5 separate regions of the Homo sapiens genome follow, and all the other regions are linked to region 5. The links are contacts of gene promoters, found by promoter capture Hi-C in blood cells and fetal thymus (Javierre and others, 2016). All regions are on one chromosome and are shown on one strand. The core of a region is centred on a gene start or on the middle of the fragment in contact, and the rest is flanking DNA. Distances in the headings are between cores, read along the strand shown.

Region 1 (4,318 bases), core at 650-3,149, 8.0 Mb before region 5:
CCACAGAAATAAGAGCTGTAAGATTTTTGAAAACTTGGTTTCAAATTTACCCTACCACTGACTAGGTTTGGGCAAGTCACTTTATCTCTCTGAAGTACAGAATCTTCATCTGTAAAACAAAAATAATATCTACTACATGTAGTGGGTAATATAAGCAAGCATTAAAAATGGGTCAGCAAAATGGTGCTGGAACAACTGGATATCCAAATGCAAAACAATGAACTTGGATCCGTATCTGCCACTATGTATACATATTTAAAAACTCACAAAACTAAATATAGGTTGTAGACCTAAATATAAAGCTTGAAAGTACAAAACTTCTAGAAGAAAACAGAAACCCTTTGTCACCTTGGGTTAGGCAAAGATTTCTTAGGTATGACAGCAAAACCAAAATCTATAAAAGAACAAATCAGTAAGCTGGATTCCATCAAAATTTAAAATGTCTGTTCTTCAAAAGACAGTATTAAGAGAATAAAAAGGCAGGATAGACTGGGAGAAGTATTTGGAAAGCATCAAGACATAACAGGTGTTGATGAGGATGAGGAGAAACTAGAACCCTCAAACAGCAATGTTTACATTCCCACTAGCAATAATCGGGACGTAAAATGGCTCAGGCCACTTTGGAAAAGTTTCTTAAAGTATTAAACAGACATGTACTGCATGATCCAGCAATTCCACTCCTGAATCTGTCCAAGAGAAATGACACATACGTTCACACAAAAATTTGTCAGCAAAAGTTCATAGCAGCATTATTTACAACAGCCAAAAAGTGGAAACAACCCAAATGTCCATCAACAGAAGAAAAGGTAGGCAAATGGTGATACATGGATACAATGGAACATTACTCAGCAATAAAAAGGAAATTATTGATGCATTCTTAGTGAAGGATCTCAGACAAAAAAAAAAGCCCACATACTGTAGACTCCGTTTATATAAAACCCTAGCAAATGCAAATTAATTTATGATTACAGAACGCAGATCAATGGTTGCTTAGCGATGGAAGGTGGGAAGCAAAGATGTCAGAGGGGTATGAAGAAACTTTCTGGGATGATGTGTACACTATTTTGATTGTGGTGATAATTTCACAAGTATACAGACTACAGTACACATATATATCAAAACTTTAGGTGAGTGTAGTTTACTGTATATTAACTATGCCAAAAAAAGGAGGACTGTTTTTTTAAAAAAAATGTAAATTCTTCAACTCCTTGGACCTCCCCAGAAGAAATGCTGGAAAAAACATTTAAAGCAACCTAAAGAGGGAAGTGGAGTGCGACCCATCTCTGCCTTGAAAGGTGCAAGAGTTTACAGAGTAACTAAAGAGCTCGATTGAATCTAAAAAAAATTGGCTTCAATTCTGCAGAAATCTGGTCTGGAAAACATCACCTCTACAAATCCGACTTTTGGGGACACTCTTGAGTGTGAATGGGGGAGACCCTACACCTAAGGTTTGCCCAGGGCAGCCCCGATGACATCCACGGGCCCCACGTAAAGAGGAAACCAGAGGCCCTTTCCCTCCCAGCTGCATCCCCCTGGCCTCGCGCGCCCGCCTTCCTACCTGCATGTTCCTCAGGAGCTGGAAGATCTCCATGGTGCGGTACACGATGTCCTGCACTGTCTCCTGCCCGATGCGGCACAGCGACGCCGTGTTGACTTCCCGGGCGGCCTGCTGAGCCTGGGGCCCGGCGAAGGGCCCGGGCGCCATCCCCGACGCGGCCAACGGAGGGGTGGACATGGCGCGGCTGCAGCTTCAGGCCGGAAGGGGCCAGACAGCAGGTGTCAGGGGTCTGCCCGGAATTGGGAGGCTGTGGGGCCTCAGCGTTGGAACCAGCTTGAGAGACCCCCCGCGGCCCGATTTCAAAACAGCGGCCGCGACTTCCGCCCACTGTGACGTAACACGTCAGAAAACGTCATAGACACCGCCCACTCGGCGAACTGTCTCCGAGCGGAGCCGGGCTGGATTGGATTGGACCCCTGGGCGGGAAAGGACGGACGGGTTAAGTAGCCAATCACCAATTGCGCTCCAGCCAGAGGGGCGATGTTCTTGGGGAGCCTGGGGTGAGTTCCCAGAGTTCGTTTCCCAGTCTTGGCTCAGCGTTAGAACCTTCTGTGTTTAGTTCCTTGCGGAGCATTTTCTCTTAACAAGCCTGAGGTTTGTAGTATAACAGCTAAGAGACAGGTTAAAGTACTTGTTGAGTCGCATACAGGTGTAACTGGCAACCTGCGATTCGAATTCAGAAAACAAGATTCCTAAGCTTGTACGCTTCTCTGTGACATGATACGGACTCCCCGATTGCTCTTGGTCCCTGCTCAGATGTTTTATTCTTTGAGTTTTCCCAGTATCTGTAAGCAAAAAAAATGATCAACACACACACTTCTTTCTGACTCTGGCTCTTATTAGTGTCTGATTTTTTTTTCTTTTTCTTTTTGAGATGGAGTCTCGCTCTGTCACCCAGGCTGGAGTGCAGTGGCGCGACCTCGGCTCACTGCAAGCTCCGCCTCCCGGGTTCACACCATTCTCCAGCCTCGGCCTCCCGAGTAGCTGGGACTACAGGCGCCCGCCACCACGCCCGACAAATTTTTTGTATTTTTAGTAGAGACGGGGTTTCACCGTGTTAGCCGGGATGGTCTCGATCTCCTGACCTCGTGATCCGCCCGCCTCGGCCTCCCAAAGTGCTGGGATTACAGGCATAAGCCACCGCGCCCGGCCTACTGTCTGATATTTTATATAGCTTTCAGTTTGTTTACTTTCAGACTTTATCTCACCCTATCTACACACACTGCCAACTCCATGAAAACAGACTATTTTATTCACTTATTCTCAACACCTAGTGATTGGCACAAGTATCAATAAATACTTATTGAATGATTGTTGAGTGACATGATAAATGCAAGAGAAATTAAAATGTCTCTCACAATGTCTCTCACTTACTGTTCATCTCCAAAGTGGGGAAAAGTGAAGAATGTAAAATTAGTGATAGGCACAAACATTGCATTTTTTAGAAGTATCTGAATGCTCCATTGTACGGACTTTCCAGGAAATAGTTACTAAATATGTCATAGGAACCCTGGTAGAGATTTTAAACATAGTAATTCGCAGGTCTTCGGTAATTACCATTCGACAAATATTGGCTGAGCACCTATTATGTGCTGGGTGCTAGGAGTGAAGATAGCGTACTGAACAAACCAGGCAAAAGCCCTGCAGCATGTTTGTCATGGGGACAAACAGAACACTATTGTGATGAGCGTCTTGAAGCAAAAGTTCCTGATATCAGGGTGCTAACAATTTAGGAGATTGAGAACGACCTGAAGGGAGCAGTGTGGAACCTGAAGGTGGATAGGGAAGGGAGTAACGAATGATAGAGTCTTTTCTATGAGGACGAGGAAGGCCAGTGCCAACACCTGAAGTGAAGAGGCCTCCTAATGCTTTCTAGGATCTGGAAGAAGTTCAGTGTGAGGACGAGTGTTAGGAAATAAGGCTGAAGACAGAGGCAACCCTGGAGGATCTTCTAACCCATGTCAAGCAGTTGAGAATTTATGGAGTGAAATAGCAAGCCATTGAAGAGTTTCAAGGTGAGAGGAATAATTTGAAATATTCATTTTAGAACACTTATTCTGGTTGCTAAATGGGGAACAGATGGTGGGTTTCTATTGTCTTCTCTCCCAAAGGGGAATGATGATGATGATCATGACCTGTGCAGAGAAAGGAGACAGAGGGTAACTTTGAATAAATATTTAGTAAGTAGAATCTAGAGAACTTGATAGTAACTGGATCAGGAACATTAAGGAGAGGAAAGAATTAAGGATGGCACGTATTTCTGCTTTCATGTGAAACTTCAGGTGAAGTTTATGTCATTTACCAAGACAGGATACACTGAAGAAAAAATAAGTTTCCGAGAAATTATGCCTTATGTTAATTTCCTATTGCACATGTAACAAATTACCACAAACTTTGTGGCTTAAAACAGCACACCTTTTATTATTTTATAGCTTTTTAGCTCAGAAGTCTGAAATTGTTCTCGCTGAACTACGCTCAAGGTGTTGGCGGGCTGTGTTCCCTTCTGGGGGCTCTCAGAAGGAATCTGTTTCCTTGTCTTTTCCAGATTTTAGAAGGCTGCCGCAATTGCTTGGCTCATGACCACTTCCACCAACTGCAAAAACCAGCTTTCATCCTTTTCAAAGCCAGAATTGGCTAGTTGAATATGCCATATCTCTGGTTCTGAGTCCTCTGCCTCTCTTTCATTTAAGTATCATTTTGATTACATCGGGTCCACCTAGATAATCCAGGATATCTTTTTATTTTAAGGTCAGCTGTTTT
Region 2 (4,553 bases), core at 84-2,583, 7.2 Mb before region 5:
GTGATCCTACTACCTTGGCCTACCAAAATGTTGGGATTACAGACATAAGCCACCACACTTGGCCTTCATTTTCATTCATTCAACAAATATGTATTGACACATTCTACTCAGTACAAATTCGTGTATTATACATTCTATATTCTTATATGGAATATATATTTTTATAGAATATATTAAATGGAATATATAGAATATATCCTTATATGGAATATATAGACTATATTCCTGTATGGAATATAGGTATGGGGATAGTATTCACAAAACAAAAACAAAAACAAAAAAAAACAAAAACTGAAGTACAAGGAGATGAGACTTTTGTTAAAATATCTTTTAATTTTACCGGCAAAATACATCAATGACTAATATATTCCCGTATGGAATATATTCTTATTGGAATATATTCTTATATAGAATATATAGACTATGTATATATACATATGTGTATATACCTATATACATATATATATCTTGGAGATATAAAACTAATTGGGAATAATGTCATATATATAGATAGTAAGCAAACATTTTTTAAAACATTTTAAAGACTCCAAACTATTCATTTCTATCCACCTATAAAAAACTAGCAATTAAACCTGTCAAATCACAGCCATCTTGCTTTACGCAGATTCAGAAACATGAGATCCTTTTACCTTTGAAACTCTAGTTTCAAAGCTGTTCTAAAGTGACTTGGTTTTAATTTATATACTTGCAGGGATAAGAAGTAGCTGTAGGGCCATAAAAATGTAAAGAATACAGTATCGTGCCCATACACAACTGCAAACACTTATTTTTAAGTGTTCGTAAAAGATAGTGGTCTTCAGAAACACCCCTTTTCAGATTGGCAAACTTTCAGAGTTCAAAAGTGCATGTATTACACTTTTATCCCCAACAAAGCTAGTAGCTACCCTCTAAAGCAGAGGTTAACATTTTCTTTTTCCAAACCACAGAATGGATTATGATCCCATGTGCATACTCCCATGGTTCCCTTCCCCAAGTTGTATGAAAAAATAAAGCAAATAATTCTGAGGTTTTAGGGGTAGTGGTATAGGGATAGTATTCACACACAAAAAAACTGAAGTACAAGGATATGAGACTTTTGTTAAAATATCTTTTAAAGTAATTTTACTGGCAAAATACATAAATGATTAACCAGTTTTAAAATAGTAAACTTATTTATTTATTTATTTTTGAGACGGGGTTTCACTCTCTCACCAGGCTGGAGTGCAGTGGCATGATCTTGGCTCACTGCAACCTCCGCCTCCTGGGTTCAAGCGATTCTCCTGCCTCAGCCTCCCGAGTAGCTGGGACTACAGGCGCACACCACCACACCCAGCTAATTTTTGTATTTTTAGTACAGACAGGGTTTCACCATGTTGGCCAGGATGGTCTTGATCTCTTAATTTTGTGATCTGCCAGCCTCGGCCTCCCAAAGTGCTGGGATTACAGGTGTGAGCCACCATGCCCTGTCAAAATATTAAACTTACTAATACATTGTAATTTTTAGTACTTCTATAATTACTGCTTCATAAAAAAGTGGATTTTTCCAGCTCTCCAGTTCAGATGCTATTAACAGGTAATCAGATAGCACTGACTAAGTAGAAATAGATTAAGAGTAATACCTAAATTTAATGTATTTTAGCATATTGAAATGAGTATCATCAGTGTATATTTCATTTATCACTTTGTCTACACTTTATTAGGTGGCCTTAATGCTTGTCATTGACAAATGTTAACTTTCCTCACAAAACCTACACTATTCACTTTTTTCCAGTATTTTTACCTTCCTTATTAAAAATGTTTCTACCATCAAGAATTTAAAATAGAATCATGACATTGCAATCCAAACACTACCTTGGCTTGCCAGATTAGTCTACGTGTCACTCCTTGGTGTAAAGCTATAATTCCAACTTCCAGCAAAGAAGTATCTCTGAATTCAAATGAGAATGACATTTCTATGGGAATAAATGTGAACTGTCTCACATTTAACCATTAAGAATTTACTCATACGTCATCATGATAACCTAATGTTAGACTGAGAATCACTGCTCTAGTGTGGCTCCAGAAGCTGTCAGTCAGGAACTACTGATACGATTTCACTTGTCCAATAATTTTATACTTCCATCTTGTAGTACAAAAACATTTTAATTTTGGCCTGATAAATGACTAAAACAATTGCCGGGGGAATTCAGAGAGACACGTTTCATTATTCAATTCCTAACTGAATTGACCCTCATTGATCCTCAGACTAATTTAGACACTTTTCAATAACATTCACAGTCAATCTCAAAGAGAATATTATTTTTGAATTCTTGCTATTGAAGTTAACATTTACATCTAAAAGAAAATCATCATCCTTATTGGACAAGTAGAACTCAAACAAACAAACAAAAAAACTCTAGTCATAATAATGAAAATACTGAGTTTCTGATGTACAAAGAGTAAAATATTCATATACTGGAAAAATGGTGCAGTATAAATGGGCAAAATTTCACTCTTTCTAGTAGGAAGTCAATAAATAATTGATGTATCAAAAAGTAGCGGTATAATCATACAATTTGGAAATATAAATTCTTCAACTACTAGAATTGAAAGAGGAAGTTTCTTCTGTCAATGTGAAAGAGGGACTGCCTCTTTTTTTGTCACAAGCCTTTTAGAACTGTAAGATTTTTTAAAACTGTTTGCATATAATGTTTGAAGGTGGGAATGGGACCAGAGAGGCGACAATTTTACCTGGAGAAACAACCTCCCGAAACCATTTAGTAAGTAAAGTGAATTCCATCACACCTACACCCATTCACTGTTTTTATTTTTTTTTTGAGACATGTTCTCACTCTGTTGCCCAGGCTGGAGTGAAGTGACACGAACTGGGCTCACTGCAATCTCTGCCTCCCAGGTTCAAGCGATTCTCATGCCTCAGCCTCCTGAGTAGCTGGAATTACAACTGTGCACCATCATGCCCAGCTAATTTTTGTATTTTAGTAGAGATGGGGTTTTGCCATGCTGGCTAGACTGGTCACTGTTTTTATTTTATAATTAATTTTAGCTAAAGCATATGGGTTCATTTACAAAAATAAGTTTGGTCTTTTATTATAAATACTTCTAGTTGTAAAAAATTCATTTTCACATTTGAATGTCCTTGAAAGTATCCAAAGGATTCATTCTCCTTCTGCATTCTGCTTCTCAGAAAGTACTTTTGGGTTAGATCTGTTCCGAATTCTTTTTCTTTTTCTTTTCTTTTCAGAAGCAGATGATTGTGTGTCCGGTGCCTTTTTCTTTTTCTTCAAACAACTAAGAGGATTGGGACCACTTATTTTCTTGCGCTTTTTTCTTCTACTCTGTTCAGTGTTTTTCACTAAACCCTGTTCCTCTTTGAGATGTTTGATACTTTCTTTCTCATGCACTGAGACAAGCTGACCTGACTCCACTGCTTTTACAAAGGCAATTGTTTTGGGAGAAGGTTTGTCCAAAACCATAGTGTTCTGAATAATAAACATGAGAGGAACTCCAGGCTTCTTTTTTACTTTCACAGACAAATTCTGATCCTATTTAAAAGAAAACAGAATTATTTAGTTCAAATGTCAATTAAGGTACCTTAAATAGGTTTTCAAGAACTGTATTAAAAATAAAAGAGATCACAGATTTTATTTTTCAAATGAGTAAGCCTCACTTATTCATTTGAGTAATGGGGGTATATTTCATGATAAAGGAAGAAAAACATAAAAACTGAGCACAGTGTTAGTAGCAGCTGTGTGAACCGGATTTATCGATACTCTAGAGCCACAAATTACAAACTAATGCAAAGGTAAATGTGTTAGGTGGGTTTCTCCTGTTTCCACTCTAAGATATTCTTTGGAAAGGGTCAAGAATGCTTAAAGAGGTTAAAGGAAAAGAAACTGGGTAGTAATTAGCTACTCAGATTCTAAATTCAGCTCTACCTCTGTGTAATTTTATAATTCTGATAATCAAATCTGTATGTATGTGAACTTAATATCACCCCCAAAAGTCTCTCTTCTCCTGCCTTCAAGAAGATGGGAATATTTTTCTTCAAAAGCCTGAAATATTTCATACTGTTGGTACAGTCTTAAGCAGTATGAACCATGACTTTGAGAAACAGTATGAAATACAGGAACATGAAAAAAATTAACAGAATACAGGCACTTTGCTCTACTTATCTTCCCTTCAAGAACCCTACAACAAATCATCACATCTCATGTCAACAATTTCTTGTTTTAAAAAAAGAAACTTCTGCCAGTGTCCAGCATGATGGCAAACACCTGTAATCCCAGGTACTCAGGAGCTGAGGTGGAAGGATCACTTTAGCCTAGGGGTTCGAGACCAGCCTAGGCAATATAGTGAGACCCTCAAGTCTCAAGAAACAAACAAAAAAAGCAAAACAAAGGAATCATTAAAAAAAACAAAACCCAACCTTCCACTACTAAAAAGAATATCAACATGCTTAAAGTTTTCCTCAAATTCTCAAATGACAATTGCTTTTACTGACTGCAAATTAACTTAGAAGCCTGTATTTTTAAAAGTCTAATCATTCTAACTTT
Region 3 (4,627 bases), core at 1,146-3,645, 7.2 Mb before region 5:
CTGAAATCCTAGCTACTCAAGAGGCTGAGGCGAGAGAATCGCTTGAACCTGGGAGGCGGAGGTTGCAGTGAGCCAAGATCACACCATTGCACTCCAGCCTGGGTGACACAGGGAGACTCTGTCTCAAAAAAAAAAAAAAAATTAACATAACTATTAATATATTTGGGCTTAAGATTGCCATTTAAGTTATTTTTTATTCATTCTCTCTGTTTTCATTTCTCTCTTTTCTTTTTCTTCATTCTTCTGGGTTATTTGAACATTTTAAATAATATATTGATTTATTTACATTATTTTGAGTGTATCTCTTTGTAAAGCTTGGATGAGGTCACCATAAAAGAGAACAAAAATAGGGGAAAGAAGATGTTCAAAGTCTAAATTTGGTGCTCTTCAATATTTAAAGGTTGAAAAGGGGTAGAAAAATCAGCAATGGGAACTGAGAATAAAGGAGGTAGCCAGTGAGATAGGAATGAAATTAGGAACCGAAGTGACGGAAATGTCAATGCTTCTGGGCCCTTTCTTGTCAAGGTGATCATATTGATTTCTAATTCAAATTCTTCATATTCTCTGGCCCTCTCTCTCTCTCTCTCTCAGTTGTACCTCTTACATCTAGTGTATTTCATAAAGAGGGCCCACATGAACTGTCTCAGGACAGATGAAAATAACCCATTGTAGTATGTTTAGCACACGTGGCTGCAAAACCTTAGTTGGATATTTTCAAGGACAAAAAAATTGCAAAATATTTTAAACTTTACTTTGTAGTTTTACTGCTATGAGGATATTGGTATTGTAATTCTGAAACAAAACTGTGTTATGTATGTTGTAGGATAAAGCAATAAATAAATGTATTATTGTTTATAAGTAGCCTCACTGTTTTCTAATGCTCATCATTCCAGCTACCTAGTGGTAGGCAAAAACCTCCAGTCTGGTTCTTCCATGCGAGATTTTCTTTCTTCTTTTTGTGAATGTTCTGTTACCAATTTCTAGTGTAATTTTACCAGGATCAACCTTTAAAACCTCTAAATTTGTGGACTTTCTGTGTGACCTAGGGTTTGGTGTATTTTAATAAATATTTCATATACACTTGAAATGAGTGGATATTAACTTTTCATTTTGTAGTGTTAAGAATTTGTAACATGTAACTATTTCTCCTCCCAGATTGAAATATAACACCAGATCCCAATGACAAAACAACAAAAAACTTCAGGGCAGGATATGCCGTTTATTGATTTAATTATTTCATCAGTTCTGTATACATATTTATTGAATAAACATTTCAAAAATAAGGGATAGGAAAAAAGTCATTTGGAAGTAGAAAAGAATGTTTCAAATTACTTATCTAAAATGGCTTCTTACAGTTGTCATATATTCTTTTAAGGACTTGAGATGTGTATTTCAGAGTAATGTGTCATAAATCAGCGTGATTTTTAGAAAATATATTCTGTATCATCCTTCAACAATACCTCAGATAACTTCTTTGGTACTTTACTCAGGTAAATCTCTACATGAAGCTAATAGCAAAAGGCTACTATTTCTGGTAATTCTGATAAAAGTTTCTATGTCTTAATTTCTATATAATCTAAGTGGTTACAAGCAGCTATCTAAAATTACGTAAAACAAGCTGTGCAATACTGGCTCATCGCTAATTAACAGAATAATGTCGGACAAATCACTTATCAGTTTTCTAATATGCATAATGCGAGTTAGTACAGCACTTCATTGCAAGATCAGAAATGAAAGCATTTTTACATAAGAGACACTACAGAAATAATGCGAACTGTAATGCTATTATGACGGTTTGCCTAGTGGTGAATGATTAAACATTTAAAAAGTTTACTTTCATCTTAGATCATTCCATCGGAAAGAGGTCGAAAATGTACAGTAGGCATGCACAAAGGATACCGCCTGGAAAGAAGGTAAAACTGGAAAACAGGAGGGAGGCGGGGCCCAATTTTGGCTTCTCCTTCCGTCTCCGCCCCTCGAACGCCGGCCTGCGAGTGACGTCACGCGAGACTTGTACTTCCGCTTCCGGTAACTCACGTTTCTCTTTCTTCCTGTCTGCTTGGAAAGATGGCGTCCCGCAAGGAAGGTACCGGCTCTACTGCCACCTCTTCCAGCTCCACCGCCGGCGCAGCAGGGAAAGGCAAAGGCAAAGGCGGCTCGGGAGATTCAGCCGTGAAGCAAGTGCAGATAGATGGCCTTGTGAGTGCTGTTCTTTTTCCTCTGGCCCACGTGGGGAGCGCAGTTCCCAGCCCCGTCCCACCAGACGTACTTTCTAGCATTCTCCCCCTTGGGCTTGGTGTGGCTGGGCCAAAGTTTTTCCCTAGTACGTTTCTCTTTCATCTTCACTTTTTGTTCAGGAGCTTCGACAGCCTTCTCTTGTCTTCTAACGGGACAGTTGGGGCTTCAGGAAGGGGACTGAGAATAGGGGTGTGAGTGACAGGTTCCTGGGGTCTTGTTTTGAGATGACCGGTGGGGGGATTTGAAGAAAGACTCCTGGAGACCAGCAGCTAACGAAGGTGTCGAGAAGGATTTAGGGACCTAGTAGGGCTCTGGGAAGGAGAGAGTAAGGAAACTCCACTGATTCCCTGCTGGGATCTGACATCTATAACGTTCCAAGTGGAGATGTACTTTGTAGCCACTCTTTTGAGCCTGTACTTCGGCGCTTTATCTGAAACCGTATAATTTAGAATACTCTTTTGTAGTGTTCATTCTGAAAAACATAAAAGAATATCAAAGAGAAGGGCCTTAAATGTATTTAGTAGTTAAGGTTCATGAACTAGGACATCCAAGGAAATTCTTGATAAGGAAATGGACTTAGCTGGGAAGAGGAAAATCTAGAATGAGAAATTTTATTTCTGTTGTTTCGAAGCAAAATGCATTTATATGACGTTCTAGTTTTAAAAGTATCCTTCCTGCCCTCTTTTTAAAAAGCATCCTCTCTTCCTTTGATTTTTTTAAAGGTTATTTCCTATTAATGCAGATCTTAGATATTTGTAATAAGAAAGTACTTTTAAATTCATGTGAAAATTGTAATTGCAAGCAGGTATTTTTAAGTGGAAACTGTTGATAATTTAAACGCAGCATATAATTGAATCTGTTGAACTGACTTAGTTAAACTGGATACAAGAGTGTAGCCTGGTGGTTAAGAGCTCATTCAGTCTTCTAGGCTCTTCCACTTAACCAGCTCTGTGACTTTAAGGCAAGTTAGCCTTTCCAGGCTTTGCTTTCCTCATCTGTCAAGTGGGAATGAGAAGTATCTGTATCATAGAGTTGTTTGGATTAAATGAAAAAGTTTATGTGGTGACCTGTAGTACAGTGTAATCACTTAATGTTAATTATGATTATTATTATGAGTTTAATGTCTGTGGTTAGCAGAGTTTGAAAGATGCAGGCAAGAGATTAACTTTGGAATGTTTTGTTCTAAATGTCACTTGTGTAATACTTTGAAAATGCAGGCCGGGCGTGGTGGCTCACGGCTGTAATCCCAGCACTTTGGGAGGCCGAGGCGGGCGGATCAGGAGGTCAGGAGTTCGAGACCAGCCTGACCAACATGGTGAAACCCCGTCTCTACTAAAAACACAAAATTAGCCGGGCATGTTGGCACGCGCCTGTAATCTCAGCTACTCAGGAGGCTGAGGCGGGAGAATCGCTTGAACCTGGGAGGCGGAGGTTGCAGTGAGCCGAGATTGTGCCACTGCACTCCAGCCTGGGCAATAGAGCGAGCCTCCGTCCAAAAAAAAAAAAGAAAATGGAGTACTATCTGGCCTGTGTACTGGCACTGTGGCTTTCCCTGGCTCATGGGAGGCAGATGTGTGTTCAGGAATAAATGACGTATCTTTAGAGATTGCAAATCTCTAAAGTTAGTGGGTGGACTTAGATTACACTTGTTAAAATAAGTACCACTTATGCACTTGGGAAATGTTTATTTCTTAGAAACATATTTCTTATTAAATTTGCTATGTCACAACAGCACTCTTTGAATCACTTAGTTTCCAGAGTTGAAAAAGGCAACAGGTCGGTGGCATAAATCTATTTGGAGATCATTTATTTAGCAAATATTTTAGGACATTCTGTTAAGTGCCAAATACTATCTAACACAGGGCAGTGGTAAAAGCACTTCAGTAACAATGTCCTGGCAGCTTTAAGAGGGATTGTTGAATTAAACAGAGACCTGCAGGTGGAGATGGACTGGATCACTTCAGGTTTCACAAGGGTGCTTAGTCAAGAGACTGGTTCTCAATTTTTTGGACTCAGAAATTATTATTTTTTATCAGCTCTCTCAGAATTGATTAATGCTAAGGAACCAATTAGTCCTTCTCACAGGAGATTGGTTTATATACATGTAAATGTTGATTTACTCATTTACTGTGGAAGACATACCTTTTCAGTGGTGAAAACGCTCATATCTACCACCAAAAAGACCCTTTTGATTACCAAAGCACCTTGGAAATCGAATAAAAAAAATCAGAAGCTTACCAGTGACTCCAAAATCAATCATAATAAGAGCAGGTAAAGGATTATTTTACTTGAGAGTTATTTATATCCAGATTCTTGACGAACTTAGTGAATTATCTCTTATTCACGGTGGTGGGTACCTCTGTGCTTTTGTTCTCCATCGGTTGGGTAG
Region 4 (4,258 bases), core at 258-2,757, 7.3 Mb before region 5:
TTAATGTTTTGCTGCAAGATTGTCTTCAGAGTTACTTTTCGCATCAGCAGTGGCACTATGTTAGGTGTGCCCTTGTATTTAATTTTCATAATCTTTTTTGATGAATATTATCCCAGTTTATAGTTGAGAAGTAACTTATTCACCGTTACAAAACAACTGAGCAAAGAGGGAGCTTAATTTGAACCTACGACTGTCTGATTGTAAAACTCTTGGTCAAAGGATGTTAGAACCAAAACAGAGGAGATTTCTAGTGTGCAGGGTTAGAAATATCTTCAGAGATCCTTCCCCCTACTCCCCTGAAGAGGTAGCTCCGTTCTGATCTGAGTTAGGTATTGACGTTTTCAAAGGTTAGGTAAACCACCAGATTTCAACCTTTCAGGTTTTCATAGTAGGGAAACTGAACTGCATAAAGGTTAGGCAGCTTAACTGCTAGTTAATGACAATAGCAGGATTATGTCTTTACTTCTGAGATAGTAGTTTTTACTTTGAATAGGTGGTGTACATTTATGTCCCGAGTTAAAATATGTGTGTGTGTGTGTGTGTGTGTGTGTATGTATATATATATATCAAACAGTACAAAAAGGTAGGCCTCACTTGCCCTGCATACCTACTTTCCAGAGGTAACCAGTATCACCAGTTTCATGTGTACGCCACAGGTATTTTAAGCTTATTCAAGAACTCGTAAATATATAGAGAAAGAGCATTCTTTTTTAAAACTCCAACTTTTTTGCACTTAACCTGGAGATTTTCCATGTTAGTACAAATGTTGTATTCTTGTTTAAAGTTGTACTGTACAATTGTCCCTTGATATTAAAGGGGAATTGGTTCCAGAACCAAAACCACGAATGCTCAAGTCGCTTATATGAAATAGTGTAGTATTTGCATATAACCTACTAACATCCCATATACTTCAAATCATCTCCATTTATGATATTACAATGTAAATGCTATGTTAATAGTTAATATAGTTGTTATAGTTTTTTATTAGTAGTATTTTTTATTATTGTGTTTTTTTGTCCCCCCCTCCAACAATTTTTGATCCTGGGTTGGTTTAGTCCATGGATGCAAGAAGCCATGGATAAGGAGGACCGACTATATTCCGTTGTTTGGGTTTATTAATTTTTCATATCACTTATTGATGGCCAAGTAGGTTATTTCGAATGTTCTGTTCTGCTCTGGCAAGGCAGCATAGTGTTGTAGTTAGAAGTGTGGATTCTGAAGTTCAAGTTCCACTTCCATTAAATACTAGTGACATTTACTTATCTTCATCTGTTTTCTCCATCTCTAAAATGGGCCAGTAATTTACTTCTGTAGGACAGTCATGAAGAGGTTGGATACATAAAACACGTAGTGCTTAGTAAGTTTTCTTAGGATTTTTTCGTGTTTGGTTTTTTGGTTTTGTCTTTAGTAATATGCATCTCCAAGTATATCTTTTGTATTGATTACTGAAAGTGCAAGTTCTGGCTAGAAAGTGTAAGTGAAATTTTTATAAAATGTTGTCATATTGTCCTTCAGAGAGGACAGTACCAATTTACACAACCGCAGTCCTGCCATGCTTTCTAATGAGTGAAATATTGGTAATGACTGATACTATCCTAGAAGCATGAGCCTCAGTTTGATTCTTTGAAACAGTCTTAAATTGCCATTTTTTGTATTCTTGAATATGTTCTAAAATAGCAATCTTTCTGCTGTTTCACATCAGACTTTAATTTTTTAGGGTCAATTGAAAAAAACTGCTTGCCGCTTTAGAAAAAAATGATTCTCAAATCATGAAATGCTAAGTTGTGCTCTGGTATCAAATGCAGATTTTCTGCACAGGGTTTTCATAAAGGATTTAGCAGAATATAGAATCTTCAAAATCTAAACAGATTAATCGACTTTTTTAAAGATTGGATGAAGTTTGGTATTATCAAGGAAAAAAAAATAGGCTTAAAAGGCAATTATAATTACACTTTCTCCTTATTCAGATATACACCAGGAGTCGATCCACCACTGCTCCTTTGGCTTCCTTTAGTTATTAGAGTGATTTCCTCTTGCTAATTGTTTCCCACATTAATTTTAGCATCACTCTGCCTTCCTTAGCCCCATCCTATGCCAAACAGGCTTCTGTTTAGGAATCTCTGCCTCTGCATAGCTGGGATATTTTAGGCACGGTGCTCTGACCAGCAGCTGAAGTGCTGGCCAGGAGCTACTGACACCTGTTGAAAAATGCCAGTAGTTTTAATTTTTAAAACGTCTAAAATTTTTTACATATGCCAATTATGAGATCACTTGGTGGATCTTACTTACTTATTCATTAAGCACATATTTAGTAATTGTCATGCCACAGATAGTATTCTAGAAGCTTAATATTAAGGAGTTTTTTGTTTAGGATACAGTTGCTTGCTTCCATAGTGGAACTTGGGGCTTGTCCTGTACAACAGCGATTATATTTCTCAGAACATGCTGCTATGTTGGATTTCTGTAAAGTTCTCTAGATTTTATTTATAACATAGTAGGAGCAGCTTAAGTTTTGTGATAACATTTTAAGGCTTGAAGTAGGCACTGATTTGAAACATAGGAGGCTCTCTTCCGGTATGGGAAGCATGTTTTAATCTATAAAATAACAAATGGCAAATAAAGCACCTTTGAGGTGTTATTTAATGCTCGTACCTTAAGAATATTTTGTCTGAGTTCTTAGTATAGAATATAGTATTTCTTCATTCTTTAATTTCTTTTTTTTAAAAAATAAACACGGGGTCTTGCTATATTGACCAGGGTGGTCTGGAACTCCTGCCCTCAAGCATTCCTCTTACCTTGGCCTCCCAAAGGGCTGGGATGGCAGGCGTGAGCCACCACCGCTAGCCAATTTCTTCCTTCCTTAACTCCAAATTTGGGAGGAAGAGTTTACAACATTAGACAGTTGACAAAGCCTGGTTTTTTTTCTTTTGAGGAAAAGTTTTTTTAGTATGAATTAATAATCCTTTGGGAACATTAGATTCAGAGAATGAGAATTTCAAGACTCTTTACTCTTAAGTGATGGAAATGGAGATAAAGCAAACCTGACTGCAGTAGTCTTGCACCACAGCCCCCCACCCTCCAAAATATTTTTGACATGTAAGAAATCTGTTGCTTGTGATACGCGTAACTAAAATATATTTTCTCTACATCATGGGAAAGAATTGGCACATTTTTAATTGAAAGTACAGTAAGCAAAATTCTTTAAGATTTACAGACTGTGAAAAAATGAAAAATAATTACTCTGTATCTTTTAGAGAAAAGCTAATTCAAGAGATTTTAGTCCCACCTGCAGTGTAAGAGATCCAGCTTCTCTGTGTCTTTCAGCATTTGATGTTGCCACTATTTTTTAATTTAGCTCTTATATTAAGTGTGTGGTGATAATGTTTTTGGCCTTAATTTGTATTTCTCAAATGCCTAGGATAATTGAACATCTCATGTTCTTATTTGTCATCAGTAAACCTCTTCTGTGAAATTTCTCTTCTTTGGCTCACTTTTTTTTTTCTTTTTATACAGAGTCTTGCTGTGTCACCCAGGCTAGAATGCAGTGTCGCGATCTCAGCTCGCTGCAACCTCCACAGCCTGGGTTCAAGCAATCCTCCTGCCTCAGCCACCTGAGTAGCTGGGATTACGGGCACATGCCACCACACGTAGCAGTTTCTGTGTTTTTTAGTAGAGACAGGGTTTTGCCAAATTGTCCTGACTGGTCTTGAACTCCTGGCCTCAAGTGATCTGCCTGTCTTGGCCTGCCAAAGTGCTGGGTTTACAGGCATGAGCCAGCCTGCCTGGCCTCTTTTGCTTACTTTCTAATTGGAGTTTTTTTTTCTTCTTACCCCTGAAGTTTTAAGAATTCTTTACATATTCTATATCTGAGTTCTAGTCAGATGTGTGGTTTACAAATATTTTTTCCCCAGTCTATAGCTTGTCTTTGCATTTCTTTCGTAGAGCAAAAGTTTAATTTGATAAAGGCGAGTTTATTGAGCAAGAACTTTTCCTTCATGGGTTGTGTTTTTGATGTGTCAAAATTTTTACCAAGCTTTAGGTACTGAAGGTTCCCCTCTGCCATTTTTTAAAAGTTTTGTCTATTTTGAATTTTTATATAATGTGTGAGATTTAGGTGGAGGGTTTTTTCCTTGCCTTTTTTGTTTTGTGGGGGGTGTGTGCGTGCGTGCGTGCATGTTTTCTGGTCTTCAGATCGTATTTAATCACTCCAGCACCATTTGTTGAAAAATGTATCATTTCTCCATTAGATAGCTTTTGC
Region 5 (4,332 bases), core at 32-2,531:
TAATAGATGAGGTTGACAGACTTAGATTCACTTACCCAGGATTTAAAGGGACTGACCCGAAAGCCCAAGGCTCTCCCTACATCATATCCTACTTAAGAAACCTTTTAATTGTGTGCACATTGCCTCAGTGCGATTTTTGAAATGCCCTCTAGATCACCAATTTGATAAGTATCTTACGCTACTTTACACTTTAGTTGCTTTAAAACACTTTCTAGAACGGAACAATGTTAATATAATCTAATCTTAACATTAAATTTCCTTAAAAATTACAAAGACAAAAATTTGAGGTATATCAGAATGAGATTCAAAACTATGAGGCAATGTATCCTCATTAAGGCTTTTTGAAGAAATGACAACTCTAGGAAATCAAGAATGAGAGCTCTGCCATGTTAACGGAAAAAAAATACAATTAAAAAAAGAATGCTACATTAGAAACTGATAGATCAAATGTATTATATCTTTTCTTGTTGAAATTCTCGGTAAACTGCTAGAGGTCCTTTCAAGTAGCCTCAATACATCACAATTCACAAAACAAGCAAAGCCAAAATCTATGTTCGGTACATACTAAACAGGTGCTGTATTTCTAAAACTCTATTTACGAATCTTTTCATACCAAAATTTGAAAACCATATGATCTAGTACAGTCCAGAATATCCTCAAACTATAACTCTCTGAAGTGGGTTAGAAAATATTACAAAGCTCCCAAAATAAAATTTACCTGAACTCACTTAAATTTGATAAATAAAGGTTTGAGCAGCGGCCCGTAAGAGAAGGGGAAACAGAAGCGGAGTGTGAGAGCTGGTAGTAAAATCGAACATTCTGTGCCATGTCTGGCAACCGAGAGTCAGGCCCTCAAGTATGTGACACCACTGGGGCGGTTCCGAAGGCGGAGTAAGGTCTCCAGAATAACTCAAAAGGAAAGAGTTTCATAACTTAAGTGGTTTCATTTCAGATTACCCACGTGAAATTTGTTGATGAAAAAAAAATCATACCCACTGCACAGATGAGAAAAACAGGAGCGTTTTCAGGTTATACAAGCCGACGCCTGGCGCCCGGCGTGACGTGAAACGCTCTAAGTTGCTGGAGCTGGATACCAGGTGAACTGAGATTTAAATTGTGGAAAAATCGGCCTGGAGAGGTACAAGGCCTGTAGACGGAGGGCAGTAAGGTCACGCAAATTTCCCTGAGGAAGGCGGCTTTGGAGGCTGCGTGCTTTCCGGGCCGGTACCCCACAGCCCAGTCTCCCACGCGTGAGCGGAGCATGGCGAATGCTGCACGCCTGGGTCCCGCTCCCAGTCGCAGTTTCCTCACCCCAGAGGTCACCCTGACCCGGAAACAGTACCCAGAGCAGCTGTCGGGCGTCGAGGGAGGTCTGGTGGAAGGGCGAAAGGAAGGTGGGAGGGCGGGAAGTGCGCGGCTAGGCGGAGGGCCGACGGCGAAGGGCAGACAATGCCCCAGAGGCTAGGGCTGGGGTCGGGATGGGGGTAGGGAGAGGAAAGCCCCTCCCAGGCACGCGCGAACCGCACACACTCACCTGCCCCTCCCCCTCCCCGCCCGCCCGGCGGAGGCTCCGAGCTGCCGCGGGCCGCGCGCGCACACAAGGCGCGCTCACGCGCGCTGCCTGTCTCTTCCTCGAGCTCGCGCTCCGCCCGCTCACTCCCAGCCCCGCTCATTCAAAGCCGGGCGCGCGCTCCGTAGCAGCCTGCGTTGCCTCTGCGCAGCTGCCATGGCCGCCCCTTCATCGGGAAACCCGCCCCCAGCCCCTCCTCTAGCCCCGCCCCCAGCCCTCCTTGAAGGCGGCTCTCGGCTGTCTCCAGGCCCTCGCTTCTGCACTCCGCCTCAGGTCCTGGCTGGCCCAATAGGTGAGAGGCTACGGGTCTGACGTCGAGACTGGGAGCCAATGAGCCCTGGGAGCGGGGCAAGCGGCGACAGGCACGCCAGGTTCGGTGAGGGGTAGCTTTTTGGGACTATTGCGAGCTGCTTTGACTGTTTATTCTCGGAGCGCCTGCTTCTGCCAGATGTCCCTACTTTCCTTCTATGCAGAGTGCCTCCCCTCCAGCAAAGTCCCTTTCTGTTCAACCCACAGAACCCCTGTGTCAGATGCGACCAAGGAAAATACACTGCAACAAATGAGGGATCTCCCTCTGTCTCAGGAAGATTTGGATGTGGCTAGACAGACCCCCTCCCCTCAGTCATTCCGCCACCTCAAAGATGTGGAATGCTGAGTTTAATTCAAGACGTAGCCTCCTCCCAGTAATTTTTAATTGAATTGTGTTGAACTAGAAATGAAGAAGTGGCACTTCACCGTGTCCATGCATTTGTTCCTCACATGCACCCTGGACTTGCCCTTCTTTCAACCTGAGATGTTCTTTCCTTCAGTGCTTCTCTCTTTGCAGCCTGATTCTTCTTTTTATCTTGTATGCTATGAAAGGGGTTGTTATGTGCAGGGGACCCTCAGAATACTATGCTCCACAGTTGCAAAGTGACTGGTGAGGGAGAAGTGAATAGGGTCTAAGGCCAAAATCAGTTTATGCAAATTGTTCTCAACAAGCCTTTTTCTTTATATGCCTTTAATTTTTTTTTTTATTACAGCTGCCTTTGTTCTCCCACCCTGACCCAGCAACCACCTACCCACTTAACTTTGTGATAATCTACCACAACCGTCCTCTTTCCAATTTGCACCACGTTTTTTATTAATAATTTAATTTCCAAGACGGGAAAGATGTGTTTATGGCTCGTGCTCTGGAATGGTTCTGTGTAAAGTTGGGTAAAATTATTTAATCTGTTCACCTCAATTTCCTCATCAGTAAAATGGCCATAATAGTGCCTACTTCATGCAGTAGTAATGCTTGCAAAGCTCTCTTAGCACAGAGCCTGGCACATAGCAAACATTCATAGATAACAGTTGTTGCTGCAGCTACTACTACTACTGCATTACTATTGCATTACTACAGTATCATTTCCGGTAATTGCATTTCCCAAAGGCCATGCAACCCCTTTCAGTCCCTTAAACACCTGCTCTAACTTTAATCTCTAGAATTCTAATGCCTAAATTTCAATATAAAATTTCTAAATTTTTTTTGGATTTAAAAAATCGAGTTATCTAGCTGGGCACGGTAACTCATGCCTGTAATCTCAGCACTTTGGGAGGCCGAGGCAGGAGGAACGCTTGAGCCCAGGAATTTAAGACCAGCCCAGGCAACGGGCGAAACTCCGTTTCTACAAATAATTTAAAAATTAGCCAGGTTTGGTGGCGCATGCCTGTAGTCCCAGCTACTCAGAAGGCTGAGGTGGGAAGAATCACCTGAGCCTGGGAGGTCGAGACTACAGTGAGCCATGATTGGGCCCTGCACTCCAGCCTGGGAGACAGAGCAGGACCCTGACTCAAAAAAAAAAAAAAAAAAAATCCAAAATAACCTATATTCGGATATAAACGTGTTTAAATTTTTTTTCTTAAAGAGTTGATTGCTTTAGACAATTTATTATGCCCAAGGATATTTTCTTCTTTTTCCTGATTCTTCAGTTTTCTTTATTAAATTTGCCATTTCCAAATGAAACAAAACGAAATGTATATACTTTTCCAGAAACAGCTAGTTACTGAGTACTTGTTTCCCAACACAATAGCAAAACAGAAAACAAAGCTCGCTAAAGACTGCAAATTTAAAATTTACTTTAGTAATACCTATAAAATAATATTTTAAAATCATCTTTACTTGTTAAATAGTAAGCCCATAATTGGGATCACAAGTCAATAATTTGGGATTGGGTTTAGGGACCACCTCTTGGGAACAGGGAACTTTAAGTCCTGTCCTCTCCCCAAAGCTTGTGTGGGACGGGGGTAGGAAACCACCAGATGTCAAATGGGAGGAACATAAGGGATAGAACCTGGCATATGAATTTCTTTTACTCAATGGAATATAGTAAATTCTGTCTGCTCTGTGTCCAAACCATTTTGCTCACTTTAACGCTTCTGATCAGCCTCTGCCCAATTACCAGCTTGATTTATTCACACTATCAACCTCCAGCCCACCACTTACTCTCCCCTTTCAAAGCCTACATAGGCTTTGTTCTGACTTCTCCAGCTGGGGCTAACTCTGGCCTTGTCACCTGACCTGGCCCAGGAGGTAGGAGCAGACTGCAAACACAGCCCTCTGCTTCCAGATCTTTCCCAACCCAGTTCCCTGGCTTTTCATCAAAGGGTGGGTTTTTTTTCCCTCAAACACAATTTTAGACCTGCTGTTCTGACTTGGACTTTAATGGCTTTTTATTAATGAGCAGCTGTTCACAGTTGAATACAAGATCATAAAGTCACATTCATTTCTTGATCAAGTA

Evidence for each region. Contacts are between HindIII fragments. The CHiCAGO score rates a contact against its expected background, and 5 or more counts as called.
Region 1: the fragment with the promoter of MED30 here is called in contact with the fragment with the promoter of EBAG9 in region 5 in 1 of 17 cell types (activated CD4 T cells); the score reaches 9.5 in activated CD4 T cells.
Region 2: a fragment that was not itself captured here is called in contact with the fragment with the promoter of EBAG9 in region 5 in 1 of 17 cell types (total CD4 T cells); the score reaches 5.9 in total CD4 T cells.
Region 3: a fragment that was not itself captured here is called in contact with the fragment with the promoter of EBAG9 in region 5 in 1 of 17 cell types (naive CD8 T cells); the score reaches 5.4 in naive CD8 T cells.
Region 4: a contact is called between a fragment that was not itself captured here and the fragment with the promoter of EBAG9 in region 5, in 2 of 17 cell types (non-activated CD4 T cells and total CD4 T cells). The highest score is 5.8, in non-activated CD4 T cells.

Annotation. Positions count from the first base shown.
Region 1 is chr8:117,518,294-117,522,611 of GRCh38, reverse strand. It overlaps MED30 (mediator complex subunit 30), which reads right to left and starts at 1,899. Exons shown (of 4, transcript NM_080651.4): 1 at 1,559-1,899. The coding sequence starts at 1,735. LOC105375716 (a long non-coding RNA gene) reads left to right here and starts at 1,892. Exons shown (of 7, transcript XR_928569.3): 1 at 1,892-2,058; 2 at 3,435-3,573. The HindIII fragment of the contact is 1,953 bases long and covers 305-2,257 here.
Region 2 is chr8:116,770,445-116,774,997 of GRCh38, reverse strand. It overlaps UTP23 (UTP23 small subunit processome component), which reads right to left. Exons shown (of 3, transcript NM_032334.3): 3 at 314-3,542. The coding sequence ends at 3,156. Among named protein-coding and RNA genes, the nearest start is that of UTP23, 6.2 kb to the right of the region's middle. The HindIII fragment of the contact is 7,781 bases long and covers 1-4,553 here.
Region 3 is chr8:116,753,238-116,757,864 of GRCh38, reverse strand. EIF3H (eukaryotic translation initiation factor 3 subunit H) reads left to right here and starts at 2,042. Exons shown (of 8, transcript NM_003756.3): 1 at 2,042-2,199. The coding sequence starts at 2,068. The HindIII fragment of the contact is 4,157 bases long and covers 317-4,473 here.
Region 4 is chr8:116,868,833-116,873,090 of GRCh38, reverse strand. The region is part of intron 1 of RAD21 (RAD21 cohesin complex component); the gene reads left to right. Among named protein-coding and RNA genes, the nearest start is that of RAD21-AS1, 3.5 kb to the left of the region's middle. The HindIII fragment of the contact is 1,678 bases long and covers 669-2,346 here.
Region 5 is chr8:109,537,122-109,541,453 of GRCh38, reverse strand. It overlaps EBAG9 (estrogen receptor binding site associated antigen 9), which reads right to left and starts at 1,281. Exons shown (of 7, transcript NM_004215.5): 1 at 993-1,281. EBAG9UORF reads right to left here and starts at 1,728. Exons shown (of 1, transcript NM_001436381.1): 1 at 1,654-1,728. The coding sequence starts at 1,728. The coding sequence ends at 1,654. It overlaps PKHD1L1 (PKHD1 like 1), which reads right to left. Exons shown (of 78, transcript NM_177531.6): 78 at 4,247-4,332. RefSeq lists an enhancer at 913-1,272 and a silencer at 1,333-1,882. The HindIII fragment of the contact is 10,757 bases long and covers 1-3,824 here.